5 separate regions of the Homo sapiens genome follow, and regions 1, 2, 4 and 5 are each linked to region 3. Evidence: promoter capture Hi-C in human tissues and cell types (Jung and others, 2019). All regions are on one chromosome and are shown on one strand. Each heading gives the region's core, a stretch centred on a gene start or on the middle of the fragment in contact. The rest is flanking DNA. Distances are from core to core; before and after follow the strand shown.

Region 1 (2,811 bases), core at 299-2,798, 610 kb after region 3:
AAGACAGGCCAAGTCACAAAGACTACCCATCCCCCGTCACCTTCAGCCCAAGTCACTTCTACAGCACCCAGCCTCTGCCTGAACACCTTGGTGAAGGTGGACAGGCCCTCTTGGGAAGGCCATGCTGGCGCCCCTGTGTCTTCACCTCCTGGAACCCCTGGAACCCTCCCTGGTTCAGCCTGGCCAGCTGTCTCCACACAAGGACTTGCAGCCTCTGTGGCATCCTGGTCCCTCCCAGTCTGTCTCCCACCCCACAGAGGGCCCTGCATGCACAGGGCACTACAAGGGGACTAACTCAGGCCTGTGGATACAGCTCTGAACTCAGACACCTGGAGGACCCAGGGTGGATGTAGGGGAGCTCCAGCCCCTTGGGAAGAGCCCCATACCACCTCCCTAAACTTGAAGGCCACCACCCACGCCTGCTCCACCTCAGCAGGTGTGGGACAGGTCTGTGAGCATCAGGATCCCTCTGGGATGGCCCCAGGACTCTCCCCTGCCAGTCCTGCCCTGTTGTCCCAGGGAGCTCTCCATAGGGCTCTGGAGCTGGCAGTCACAGGCCCCGCCCCCAGATGGAGATGAAGCCGGATCTCCGGGATGATGGGAGCAGGGTGCCCATCCAGGACTCCTGGCACTGCCATCCCGACCCACTGGGCACCTGATTCTTGGACACAGCCCAGGACAGAGGCGATCAGATCCCACAGCCTGGCTGGGAGCTGGTGTGGGCGCCCTGGAGGACCTCAGAAGCTCCAGGCCCAGGCATGGTCTGGGCACAGCAGGCCCACCTCTGCCTGCCCCCTCATGCCACCCCCTCCAGCTTTCAGGGCTGGCTGTCCAAGAACAGGCCCCCTCCCCGCCACACACACACACACACAAAACCTGGTTTTGGAGGTATTGCCCACCTTACAGGGAGGGGGTACATCTTGGGGTCCCTCAACTTCGGGTGGGAAGGCGGACCCGTGGCCTGCCCCGAGTGGGAAGGACACCCTGTTTCCGGGCGTTGGGTCGCCCCCCGCCCCCTCCCTTACCCCACGTGGCTTCGGAAAACCCCGTCCCGGTGAACTCCCCAATCTGGGAGTCGCGGCGTGCGGGCCACCTGTCCGGGAGCCGCCCCCAAACTCCTCCCACTGCCAGCGAGGCAGGGGCCCGCTCCCTGCGGAGATCCGGACACCCCGCGTCGGGGCGCGAGGCTGGGGGTGGGGTGGGTGGCGGGACCCGGGACCGGGAGGGGACAGCGGGACAGACTGTGGAGGGCGGGAAGGCGGGGCCCGGGACGCTGGACGCCGGCCCCGCTCGCCGCCAGGCCCCGGACGCGGCCGCCGCCACCTGTCGCGCTCGTGGGCTAGGGGCCCCGCCGGGCCTGGCGACGGAGAGGGGGTCCCCAGGGTGCCCTCGGCCCGCCCTCCCCGGGCTCACCAAGCACACGGCGCGCGCCACCACCTGCGGCTGCGTCAGGAAGCGCCGCAGGTCGAAGGAGCCGCCCGCCTTGGCCGCGCCGTAGGCCCCGCTCTCCATGTCGCCGTCGCCGCCGCTGCCGCCGCCGCGGAACGCAGAGGAACCTGCCCGGCGCCCCGCCCGACTCCACCCGCCGGGGGCGTGGCCAGGCGCCGCTAGGGACCGAGGGCAAAGTGCGGCCCTCGCGAGCGGCGGGCGAGCCGCGGGACTGCGCTTCTAGAGGCGGGGAGGGGCTGTGGCCGCGGAGCACCCGGGTCCACCCCACCTCGGGGTTGAGGGGCTAGTCTCCGGGCCACGCCGGCCGCAGCACGGACCAGAAAGGGTCAGAGAGTCCCCCGGGAAGACGGACGAACTGAGGACCGCTCACCCTCTTTGCCCCTGCCCTCCCACCGCCTCCTCTAGGAAGCCCACCACCTACCAAGAACCCACCCAGGCTCATAAGCAACCCCTCCCCCATCCCACTGAAAAACCCAGGCCACACCCTGGAGCCCCTCCCTGCCTGGCCTGCCACTCTTTCCTCCTCTCTGGGGCTAAGCCTGGGGTAGGGTCAAAGACCCCCTCCCCATTCCTCCTGGTCTGGGCAGAGCCCCAAGGCTGTGAAGGGCAGTGTGGCGTCACACTTAAGATGGTGTGCAAGGCCGGGAGCGGTGGCTCACACCTGTAATCCCAGCACTTTGGGAGGCCGAGGCGGTTGGATCACCTGAGGTCAGGAGTTCGAGACCAGCCTGACCAACATGGAGAAACCCCGTCTCTACTAAAAATACAAAAATTAGCCTGGTGTGGTGGTGCATGCCTGTAATCCCAGCTACTCGGGAGGCTGAGGCAGGAGAATCGCTTGAACCTGGGAGGTGGAGGTTGCGGTGAGCCGAGATTGTGCCATTGCACTCCAGCCTGGGCAACAAGAGCAAAACTCTGTGTCAAAAAAAAAAAAAAAAAAAAAAAAAAAGATGGTGTGCAAGGCCGGGCGCAGTGGCTCACACCTGTAATCCCAGCACTTTGGGAGGCCGAGGCGGTTGGATCACCTGAGGTCAGGAGTTTGAGACCAGCCTGGCCAACATGGTGAAACCCCGTCTCTACTAAAAATACAACAACAACAAAAAAATTAGCTGGGCGTTGTGGTAAGCGCCTGTAATCCCAGCTACTTGGGAGGCTGAGGCAGGATAATTGCTTGAAACCGGTAGGCAGAGGTGGCCGTGTGCTGAGATCGAGCCACTACACCCCAGCCTGGGCAACAGAGCAAGAGTCCATCTCAAAACAAACAAAACAAACAAACAAACAAACAAACAAACAAAACCAAAAACGAAAGTTAGCGAGGCGTGGTGGCAGCTACTAGCAGTCCCAGCTATTCCAGAGGCTGAG
Region 2 (2,814 bases), core at 97-2,596, 740 kb after region 3:
CACGAGGGATGGCAGCCACAGGATGCTGCCTGACAACAGCCACAGCATTAACCACTGGCAGGAGGGTCAGCTGGACGCTGGAAAGCTCCATTTAGAATTGTCAGCCCATTACAAAATTGGTTTCACTTGACTGAATTTCACTTCAACATCAGCATTATCGAATATTAAAAGCATCTAGGACTTATTTTTGCATGCAAGTATTAGAAGTCTTGGTTACCTTCTAAAATGGGATACTTGTTGACATCAATAACGCTACAAAACCAATGAAGCTTCTGCCCAATGCCCAGGCCAACGTGGGTGACGGCAAGAAGGTGACACCAAGAACAGAGGGGATGGCTGACCTGGTAAGAGGTAGGGAGTGGGGGGGGGGGGCAAGATTTGAAATTGCTGTTCTGTGGGGACCTGCAGCCTAGCAAAAGTTCAACTGGTTCTCAAACACAGGCTGCTCTTTATCATCACAGGATAAAGTGAGATTGCTGGTCACTGGAAGACTAATGCTATCTACACCTGTGCCTGTTCTGTAACGAATACAGTCAACTCTGTTTTTGTCCCTACTGCCTCTCGACACGTTCCAACTTGCCTGTTATTAATTCATGCCACTGGGCAGAGGACAAATGCAGAGCATTCAGTCGTCAGTAAAGAGCTGTGCTCTAGGTGTCTGCAGGATGTACTACGTCATATTACCCAACATTTTGATAAATCCTGCCACATGCCTCCTTACATTCCGACCAACAGCACACCAGCGTCGCCTTTTCCCACACTCTCGCTGGTCGCCTGCGGTGATTACAGGGTCTTGAGAAGATTAAATGAGTTAATATGTGTAAAGCAATTGGATCTTGCAAATGATAAGCACTCAATCCATAGTACTGTGTTATTACAATAGAGGAATATTAACAAGATTTAAAGTTTTGACAATTTGGTAAGTGAAAAGTGATCTATCAATGCTGTTTCCATTTATCTTTTCCCTGATTACAAGGAAATACTTTTTTTTTTTTTTTTTTTTGACACGGAGTCTCGCTCTGTCGCCCAGGCTGGAGTGCAGTGGCACCATCTCAGCTCACTGCAAGCTCCGCCTCCCGGGTTCACGGCATTCTCCTGCCTCAGCCTCCCGAGTAGCTGGGACTACAGGCGCCCGCCACCACGCCCGGCTAATTTTTTGTATTTTTTTTTTTAGTAGAGATGGGGTTTCACCGTGTTAGCCAGGATGGTCTCAATCTCCTGAACTCGTGATCCACCTGCCTCGGCCTCCCAAAGTGCTGGGATTACATGCGTGAGCCACCGCACCCAGCCACAAGGGAATACTTTCAACATACTTAGGACCCATTTGTGGTAGTTCTATGATCTTCCCGTTCACATTCTTTGCCCATTCTTCTATGGGACTGTTTTTCTTTTGATTTGTCGGAACACTTGGTATTTTTGAGATATTTATCTTTTGCTATTTACACTGTAAACATGTCCTCTCAGATTTTATTCATATTCATGTACAAAACTTTTAAATTTTTATACACTCAAACTTGTCAGTCTTTCTTTTCATGGCTTATGATTAAAATTTTATCCCAAGATTTAGAAAATACTCTCTTACGTCATCTTTCTGTAGTTCTTATATTTGTCTTGCATATGGCTTTCTAGCACTCGATATTGATCTGAACCACTATTTTCTCAGTGATCTGCAACTCTCCGTGTATACATCTGTTTTTCCCCCTGCTCTCTTTATATCATAGTTCCTGGATCTGTGTTTACTCCTGCCCTAGAAACACGCTGTTAAAATTACTAGAGGATCACAGCTCAAAGTGATAGCTCATTATGCTTTTTCAGTCTCTTGGCTCTTCTATTCACGTACATTCGCTCTTCTAGATGAAGTTTGGAATTAGTCTATCAAGTTCCAAAAGCAACTTGGAGGAAGAGCTTTAAATCTGAATTTAATTTGGCTCTATTACCAAAAGAAGCTTTTATGCTGGTTTATTACTATTACTTAGTAATACCAACAGCCAACTTCTGTAGCCTTACATCTTCCCACTGCCCCCCGCCACAATGAGCCTGCAGCGCTTACTGAGAGGCTTTACAACTGCGGGTCTGCGCTTTTCATGCATGCAGGTCACTCCATCTGCGACGCCCTTTCACCTTCTTTGCCCAGCACAGCTAACTTGAAACTCAGCTCATATCACCTCCACCAGAAAGGCTTCCTTGCAGTCCCCTATCCGTAGTCTGGGTTAGTTGTCCTTCCCATGTGGCACTCTATGCTTATCTCTGTTACAATACCTTGAAGTGGCTGACTTACTTATTGGTTATTCCAAAACACTTCACTCATGAATTGTCCATCCCCAGTGCAGGGTATGTGATGTTTGGTAGGCATTCAACAAATGTTCTGCTCAATGAACAAATGAAGACACACATGACAAAACCACCGTTCTGAAAGGCTAGCATCTTCTTCCCTTCTCAGAGCTGTGCAAGCCGAGTGTGGCACTGCTGCCTGAACATTCTCATATAGGAAGAAAAGGAAAAAGAGTGAAAAAGTGTGAAGCCAGTACACTAGTTTGTCTAAGAAATGGCAAAATGTGTGGTTGCAATTTTCTATAGAAGCAAGCTTGCAGATTAATGTAAATCAAAAGGTGAATTATGACAAAATGTTTTAAGAGTCAGATTAATCTACTATTTACATCTCGTTAGGAAGCATATTCTATATAAAGAAAAAGAATAATGAAATAAATAACTGTCAGACTAAGTCTCTTTCCATTCTTTCTTTCTTTCTTTTTTTTTTTTAATGGAATCTTGCTCTGTCACCCAGGCTGGAGTGCAGTGGTGTGATCTCAGCTC
Region 3 (2,700 bases), core at 104-2,603:
TGGTGGCCGGTGCCTGCAGTCTCAGCTACTCAGGAGGCTGAGGTGGGAGAACTGCTTGAGCCTGGGAAGCAGAGGTTGCAGGGAGTCATGATGGTGCCACCGTACTCTAGCCTGAGCAACACAGCGAGTGAGACTCTGTCTCAAAATGAATAAATAAATAAAAGAAAAAGAAAAATAGTAAAACTCAGGACAGGTGGGCCCACAAGGAAAGAGTTCTGTGGCTTTTACTCCCGTTTTTTGGTTGGTCCAAAAAATTCCCAGCAGTCCAGGGATCTCTGTGGAGTTCTCAGTGAGTGTTCTGTGTAGGGTGCAGGAGCCACAAGTGACTGCAGGGGGAAAGGGGGGTTCTGGTGCTGGCATTCTGCAGCAGTGGGATTGTCCTCTGTCATAAAGAAAGAGAAGGCCGAGCGCGGTGGCTCATACCTGTAATCCCAGCACTTTGGGAGGCCGAGGCAGGCGGATTATTTGAGGTCAGGAGTTCGAGACCAGCCTGGCCAACATGGCGAAACCCCGTCTCTACTAAAAATACAATTAGTCGGGCCTGGTGGCACATGCCTGTAATCACAGCTACTCAGGAGGCTGAGGCAGGACAATCGCTTGAACCCGGGAGGCGGAGGTTTCAGTGAGCCGAGATCGGGCCACTGCACTCCAGCCTGGGCAACAAGAGCGAAACTCGTCTCCAATAAATAAATAAAATCCAAAACGCTGGGACTTGAAGTGCCCTCCTTTCAATCTTGACCCAGGTAAAACTCAGGACAAATAAAAAGAAGTAGAAGCAGTAAACTTAGGACATACAGCATGTAAAGGTTCTGAACGCAGGAGTAAATGACTTCAAATAGCTTTTGTGGCCTTTCGCCAAGGACCGGGCCCTCCCTGGCAAGCTGGGGCCGGGTCTGACCTTCCAGGTTGGCGTCAGCAAGGACCACCCTGCCCTTCAGTGGCCGGACACGACCTTGGGCTTTCGTGCAGTAGCCTGGCTGCAGGCCAGGTCGAGTCCGCCACCCCGGGGACTTGCACCGCCCTTCAGAAACCGAAACCTGCTCGGCCCCAGGAGGCGGACCGGGAGAAGGGGGGGGGGTGTGTGTGTCTCGGGACGGGGGCGTGGTCTAGAGGCGGGGGCAGGGGAGGAGCCTCGGGTGGACGCGCGTGCGCAGGCCGGAGCCTCGGGAGGAGGCCGGGTACCCGGGGTGCGGCGCGCGCGGGAGGAAGGCGGGGCCTCGGGCGAGGGGCGGGGCCTCGGGCCGGGGGCAGGGGGCGGGCGCAGGCGCAGGCGCGGGCGGGCGGGGCGCGGGGCGCGGGGCGCCGGGGGCGGGGCTCCGAGCCGGGCTGAGGCGAGCGGGGGCGCGGGTGGCGCGGCGGGACGCGAGCGGCGAGCCGGAGCGCGGAGCCCGGCTCCCGCACCATGGAGGAGGACGACAGCTACGGTCAGTGCGCCCCGGCGGCGGACGCTTCCCCCTCGCTGTCCCCCAGTCCCCTCCGGGCCCGGCCGTCCGGCAGCGCTTGCGGCGGCTGGCGTTTCCCGGGGACACTGGTGCGGGACGCGGAGCCCGGGGCGACCGGCGGGCGAGCGGTGCGCGGGGCCCTCGCGGGGCGGGGGTCGCAGGGGGTTTTGAGGGATGAGGGTCGCCGGGGCCGGGGTCGCTGGCGGCGCTGAGGGATGTGGGTGGCTGGGGCGGGGGTCACAGGCCGGGCTCGCGGTCTCGCGGGGCCAGGGGTCGCCGCGAGCTCTGAGGAATGAGGGTCGTTGGGGTCGCGGGGCAGGATCTCAGGGGCTCTGAGGGATGAGAGTCGTTGGGGTCGCTGGGGTCCCCGGGGCAGGGGTCGCAGTCCGGGTCCCGGGGGGCCGAGGGGTGGAGGTCGCTGGCCCTGCCGCCCCTCTGCGGGGCTCGGGGCGGACGCGCGGATGGCCGGGCCCGCGTTCCCCGCAGTTTCCGGCCGCTCTCGGCGTCAGCGAGTTGTGCCCGGTCCACGTCTTTGTTCAGAAATGAGAACGGGGAGCGGCGCCGCCGGCGAGGCGCGGGCTCCGGGACGGCCCTGCCCGCGGGAGTCTGGGCCCGGTAGCCGCCGGTCCGGTGCGTCGCCGCCTGCCGAGACGCGGGTGTGGAGCCCGAGGGGCACCGCGGTGGGGACGCCGCTCCTCCCCTGACTGGGGACTTGGCAAGCGGAGCCGCTGTCCCGCTCCCTTCGCTCCCGCGCGTTGAGGCTGCTGGCCCAGGCCAGGGGTGCCTCCCTCCAAGAGTTTGAAATTGCAAGGGTTGCAAAAGGTTGTTTGACATGCTGTAGTTAATTTATTAAGTTTGTTCATGAGGAATTAAAAGGAAGAATGGCAAATAGAACAAGTGGTGAACTTTTGTGGTTTGGTAGCAAAGTACAAATAAAGCAGAACTCTGTGGCCAAATGGAACCCAATTCTAGTTTAATAACTAATGGGACATTTTTCTTTTTTTTTTTTTTTTAAGAGACGAGATCTCGCTCTGTCACCCAGGCTGGAGCACAGTGGCGTGATCGTAGCTCACGTCAGCCTCTTGAGTGGCTGGAACCATACGCACGCCACCATGCCCGGCTAATTTTTTATTTTATTTTATTTTATTATTTTATTTTATTTTATTTTATTTTTGAAACGGAGTCTCACTCTGTCGCCCAGGCTGTAGTGCAGTGGCGCCATCTCGGCTCACTGCAACCTCGGCCTCCTGGGTGAGCT
Region 4 (2,700 bases), core at 20-2,519, 600 kb after region 3:
AGAGGTCCTTGGATCTGTCCAATCTGTACCTGGAAAGGTTATTACCTGTAGGATCCTTACAGCCACACCTGGCACACTCTGTGATCACTACCACCATCTTTGTTGCTATTATTTATGATCATGATTATACAATGGGTTTCTTTTCTTTCTTTCTTTTTTTTTTTGAGCCACCGCACCCGGCCTGTATGTTTCTAACCTTCACAACCCCAATGTAAATACCAGCTGTTCTGAATCCTTCAGCCTGTGCCACATAAGCACAGACCCAAAAACATTGTGTAACCTCAGATCAAGGTCCAGAACTTTGTCCCCTAACCTCCTGCGGGTCTATGGATTTTTTTTTTTTTTTTTTTTTTTTTTTTTGAGACTAAGTCTTGGTCTATCGCCCAGCCTTCCAGGCTGGAGTACAAATGGCATGATCTCGGCTCACTGCAACCTCCACCTCCTGGGTTCAAGCGATTCTCCTGTCTCAGCCTCCCCAGTAGCTGGGATTACAGAGGTACATCACCACGCCCGGCTAATTTTTGTATTTTTAGTAGAAACGGGGTTTCACCATGTTGGCCAGGCTGGTCTCGAACTCCTGACCTCGTGATCCGCCAAAAGTGCTAGGATTACAGGTGTGAGCCGCCACGCCTGGCAGGGTCTACGGATATTATTAGCATAGTCAGGACTTCAATTTTCTTTATCCTGAAAACCAGGTTAACAAAAATCCTTAGGAGAAGGTAAAATACACCATGGTGCTCAAGCACTGGGGACCTGGCACGCACTAGGCGCTCTGCATGCCCACAGGAGTGCTCTAGACGGCTTCTAAGCTTCCTTCTTGGAATTCCAATCTAATAAATGAGCTAACTCCGCCCCAGCCCCTTAGTCCCTCCCTGCAATCCACCTACCTCTGCAGACATCTTCTTCCAAGGAACCTTGCTTGGGAAACCCACACCAGACACATCCATCATGGCGTCTACAGCCGCATGGGCGTGCGTCCCTCTGTTTATATGGCCAGAGCCCCGCCTCGCTCCGCCCCTTTAAACTTGGTGGGCGGACCGAGGCGGGGCTCAGACCAGGCCCCACCCCGATCAGCCACGTCCATCGCCCTGATTTCCAGGCCCTCCCAGTCCCTGGGCGCACGTCCCGGATTCCTCCCACGAGGGGGCGGGCTGCGGCCAAATCTCCCGCCAGGTCAGCGGCCGGGCGCTGATTGGCCCCATGGCGGCGGGGCCGGCTCGTGATTGGCCAGCACGCCGTGGTTTAAAGCGGTCGGCGCGGGAACCAGGGGCTTACTGCGGGACGGCCTTGGAGAGTACTCGGGTTCGTGAACTTCCCGGAGGCGCAATGAGCTGCATTAACCTGCCCACTGTGCTGCCTGGCTCCCCCAGCAAGACCCGGGGGCAGATCCAGGTGCGGGGGCCAGCCCTGCGCGTGGCTGGGGATGAGGTGGTCGTGGTGATAGCCTGTGTCCAGGCATCCGCGCAGGGCGGGCCCTCAAATGACCTCACCTTCTCTCCTAGGTGATTCTCGGGCCGATGTTCTCAGGAAAAAGGTAATGGCTTCGCGGGGCTGGGGTGGAGCTCCTTCCTCTTCTCCGGGGACCCCTTGTCCCGTCCCTCCCCTCCCCTTCCCTCCCCTCCCCTCCCCTCCCCTTCCCTTCCCTCCCCTTCCCTTCCCCTAGAAGGACCAGCACAGCCTCCTACAGCTCCCGCCTGGGGTGCTCCTCCCTTGAATTCAGTCCAGGAGGAAGTCTCTGCCCTCTTCTGCCCAGGCCAAGCCCCTCGTCCTGTGTGGACGCCACTCCCTCCTGGAGCTGGTGACAGCTGCTTACAGCTTAGCTGTCTTCCCCACCAAGTCCTCTGAGAAGGTGGCAACCAGTTGTGTCCCCTGTAGGCCAGGCCTTTTTGTACACCCCTATTCAATGTGGCTGTTTCCTTCTAAGGCCAAGGAAACGTAGTCGCTTTCTAAACCAAGGAGTCTGAAGCCGTGGAGCCTCTGCTCTCCTGAGGTGATAGAACCATTCCCTGACCCGGGTGGGGCTAGTGAGTTTCTTGAGTAAACTACCCACGCACCATTCTTTTTGTTTTGTTTTTGTTCTTCTAGAGGTAGGATCTTGCTATGTTGCCCAGGCTGGTCTCAAACTCCTGGGCTCAAGCAATTCTCTCACCTCAGCCTCCCAAGTAGCTGGGACTACAGGCGTGCACCCCCCCGCCTCCACCCAGCTAATTTTATTTTATTTTTATAGAGCTGGGGTCTTGCTATGTTGCCCAAGCTGGTCTTGAACTCCTGGTCTCAAGCAATCCTCCTACTTCAGCATCCCAAAGTGCTGGGATTACAGATGTTAGCCACCATGCCCTGCCCCAACATTCTTTTATGGCCCTGGGGATCACTTCAGCTCAAACCCCTTGCTCAGGAAGATGTGGCTCAGAGTTGGACTTCTTGGACCCAGAAGCAAGTGCTTTTGACGCTGCACACAAAGACTTTCTGAAATTAATTTAGAAAAGCTGTATGCCAGGTGTGGTGGCCCACGCCTTTAATCCCAGCGCTTTGGAAGGCTGAGGTGCGTTGATCACTTGAGGTTAGGAGTTTGAGACCACCCTGGTCAACGTGGTAAAACCCCATCTCTACTGAAAAAAAAAACCAAAAATTATCTGGGCATGGTGGCAGCCTCCTGTAATCCCAGCTACTCGGGAGGTTGAGGCAGGAGAATCTCTTGAA
Region 5 (2,828 bases), core at 98-2,597, 530 kb after region 3:
GGCCCCGGATGTAGCTTTTGGGCTCCATCCCCACCCCTGCTCACTTCCCCAGCCACGCTGGCCCTCAGGGCCACAAACGCAGCAGCTCCTCTCTACCCAGAGGCTTCACCCCTGCTATCCCTCTGTCCAAAGTCGGCTCCATCTTCGAAGCTCAGCCTAATCACTGCTTCCTCCAAAAAGCCTGCCCTGCTGCCTGGACTGGGACTGTTAGAGCTGCTTCCTCGCTGCCATCCTCTCACGGCCAGCATCTTGTCCCCCACCCCTGGGACCTGAGCTCTGGAGGGCAGGCCACCTCTGCTCGCCCTAAGTCCCCAGGCCTGACCTGGAGCTGGCCTGTGGTAAAGGCCTGGCCATGACTGATCTAGGATGGGTGTCCTCCTCACCAAGGGCCACCCTCACCAGACGCTTGGCCCAGCAGCTGTGGCCCCTCCTGGATCTTTCTCCTATGGGGGACAGAAAGAGGAAGAGGAGCCGCTGAGTGGCAATGGGTGCCTGTGCTCCCTGTGTGGGGGAAGGGCACCCCACAGTCTAGACTGTGTCAGAGTTCACCCCAAAGCCCCCGGGCCCTCAGAGTTCCAAGCTGGGATCAGTAACGACAATGATAATAACAGCCACAGCTGGGCAGGTCGTGATGGCTCACGCCTGTAATCCCAGCACTTTGTGGGGCTGAGGGAGAATCACTTGGGCTCAGGAGCTTGAGACCAGCCTGAGCAACACAGCAAGACCTTGTCTCTACGAAAAACACAGAAAGATTAGCCAGGCATAGTAGCACTTGCCTGTAGTCCCAACTACTTGGGAGGCTGAGGTGGGAGGTTCACCCAAGCCCAGGAAGTCAAGAATGCACTGAGCTGTAATCACACCACTGCACTCCAGCTTGGGGGATAGAGTGAGACCCTGTCTTAAAAAATTAAAAAACAGCCACAGTGGGGTGACCACCCTGAGCTTACAGCAAGCCAGGCATTGGGGTCAGCACCAAACACATATCCAGTCACTGAATGCTCACAACAGCCCAATCTGCAGTTGAGGAAACCGAGGCACAAAGAAGCTACATGGCTTGTCCAAGGCCACACAGCTGGCTTGAACTTCAGCACCACCCTGCCCCCATGGAGGCAGTCCACCCAGGGGCAGGGGCCTATGGAGGAGGGGCTCCCCACGCATTCTTTTAGCGGTCTCCCCTTAGACTGGAACCCGGCTGGAGACATAGCCCTGTCCCCCAGCCTGGCACCTGGACACCTGGACACTGCCTGGCGCACCGAACTTGCTCAACAAATCAATACTGAAGATGGTAAACGAGGGAAGCTGTGTTTTAGGGGCAGCATGAAACAGTGATTTAGGGCTGCCCTCTGGAGACAGCGGTACCCCGCCCGGACCAATTCCTACCCAAGTGGCCTCCAGCTGTCCGTTAGCTCCGCGTCTCCTGTTCCCCATCTGCAAGACAGGGATAGCAATAGTGCTTGTCTCCTAGAGTCGTTGGGAGGTTTAACTGAGCTAACATTTGCAAAGGGCCTGGGGCAGAGCCTGGCACATGGCAAGTGCCACATGAGCGTCTGTGTTATAAAAGCTCGCCCAGGGCTGGGTGCAGTGGCTCACGCCTGTAATCCCAGCAATTTGGGAGGTCAAGTCGGGTGGATCACCTGAGGTCAAGAGTTCGAGACCAGCCAGGCCAACATGGTGAAAACTCCTCTCTACTAAAAATACAAAAAAAAAAAAAAATTAGCTGGGCGTGGTGGCGCGCGCCTGTAATCCCAGCTACTCGGGAGGCTGAGACAGGAGAATTGCTTGTACCTGTGAGGCGGAGGTTGCAGTGAGTCAAGATCGCGTCACTGCACTCCAGCCTGGGCGACAAAGCGAGACTCTGTCACACACACACACACACACACACACACACACACACACACACACACTCGCTCGGCCTCGGTTTCTCCTTCAATGAGCAGAACCTTCTGCTTCAGCATCACGGGCTCGCTGGTTCTCCGCCGCGACGCAGCCCGTACTACAACTCCCAGCGTGCCACGGGGCCCGTTCGCAGACGCTCGCGCACGCCCGCCGCGAGGGAGCGCGAACTACAACTCCCAGCGTGCCACGGGGCTCGCTCCCTGGACCCCCGGCCCAGGGCGGCTGCTTCCCAGCTCTAGGAATTCTGGCCGCACCGACCACGTCGCTCTCGCCGCCTTCGCTGGGGAGTAGAGGAGTCAGCAGCTCCCGCCGGGGTGGGGAGTCGGGCGCTGCCCGCGCCATGCTCCGCAGACTGGCCCGAGCGGCGGCCCCGGTACATGGGGCGCTCCGGGCGGGGTGTGGGAGCGCGGGGGTCGCAGCCTACGTGGTGGGCCTGCGCAGCGACAAGGTGACCAGGCCCGGGCCGGCCATGAGGTGCGTCATGGCCGAGGCGGTCGTGGGGGACGACGACTACGGCGAAGACCGGCGTGCAGGCCGGGGGTCGTGGAGGCGGCAGCGGAGCGCTGTCCGTGATGGTCTGGGACGCAGGGGAAGTGGCTCCCTTGGCGCTTAAAACCCATTTATGCCTAGTGTTCCATTATTGGAACGCTAAGCATCTGGGAGGTATTTATGTCCTACTGCTCAAGGTCATCGCCAAGGTCTGATGGCAAAAATTCAAAAAATTGCAACCTCCGACATAAATGGGTGTAATGAACACCTGCCACAGGATAGGCTTGCCGTCTGCGTGCGTGCTGCTGTTACCTGAAAGTTAGAAATGCAGATTCCGGCCGGGCGCAGTGGCTCAAGCCTGTAATCCTAGCATTTTGAGAGGCCAAGGCAGGCGGATCACGAGGTCAGGAGTTCGAGACCAGCCTGGCCAACATGATGAAACC

The links. The method cuts DNA at HindIII sites, captures the fragments that hold promoters and counts their contacts. A contact is called where the count stands out against the background at its distance.
Region 1: the fragment with the promoter of SYNGR2 here is called in contact with the fragment with the promoter of CYTH1 in region 3 in 1 of the 25 tissues and cell types used here (lymphoblastoid cells).
Region 2: a fragment that was not itself captured here is called in contact with the fragment with the promoter of CYTH1 in region 3 in 2 of the 25 tissues and cell types used here (dorsolateral prefrontal cortex and hippocampus).
Region 4: the fragment with the promoter of TK1 here is called in contact with the fragment with the promoter of CYTH1 in region 3 in 4 of the 25 tissues and cell types used here (adrenal gland, hippocampus, liver and 1 more).
Region 5: a contact is called between a fragment that was not itself captured here and the fragment with the promoter of CYTH1 in region 3, in 1 of the 25 tissues and cell types used here (spleen).

What each region holds. Positions count from the first base shown.
Region 1 is chr17:78,167,318-78,170,128 of GRCh38, reverse strand. It overlaps SYNGR2 (synaptogyrin 2), which reads right to left and starts at 1,548. Exons shown (of 4, transcript NM_004710.7): 1 at 1,414-1,548. The coding sequence starts at 1,512. RefSeq lists silencers at 1,086-1,245, 1,276-1,885. The HindIII fragment of the contact is 23,749 bases long and covers 1-2,811 here.
Region 2 is chr17:78,036,868-78,039,681 of GRCh38, reverse strand. All of the region lies in intron 4 of TNRC6C (trinucleotide repeat containing adaptor 6C), which reads right to left. Among named protein-coding and RNA genes, the nearest start is that of TNRC6C, 80 kb to the right of the region's middle. The HindIII fragment of the contact is 4,828 bases long and covers 1-2,814 here.
Region 3 is chr17:78,780,926-78,783,625 of GRCh38, reverse strand. CYTH1 (cytohesin 1) reads left to right here and starts at 1,353. Exons shown (of 14, transcript NM_004762.6): 1 at 1,353-1,424. The coding sequence starts at 1,403. RefSeq lists silencers at 1,094-1,253, 1,294-1,573, 1,834-2,233. The HindIII fragment of the contact is 23,878 bases long and covers 1-2,700 here.
Region 4 is chr17:78,185,621-78,188,320 of GRCh38, reverse strand. TK1 (thymidine kinase 1) reads left to right here and starts at 1,269. Exons shown (of 7, transcript NM_003258.5): 1 at 1,269-1,392; 2 at 1,503-1,534. The coding sequence starts at 1,327. AFMID (arylformamidase) reads right to left here and starts at 959. Exons shown (of 11, transcript NM_001010982.5): 1 at 888-959. The coding sequence starts at 950. RefSeq lists a silencer at 977-1,116. The HindIII fragment of the contact is 12,138 bases long and covers 1-2,700 here.
Region 5 is chr17:78,253,825-78,256,652 of GRCh38, reverse strand. It overlaps the pseudogene THA1P. Among named protein-coding and RNA genes, the nearest start is that of LINC01993, 23 kb to the left of the region's middle. RefSeq lists a cis regulatory region at 1-96, enhancers at 1,994-2,263, 1,814-2,531, 2,532-2,828 and a silencer at 2,294-2,443. The HindIII fragment of the contact is 6,404 bases long and covers 1-2,828 here.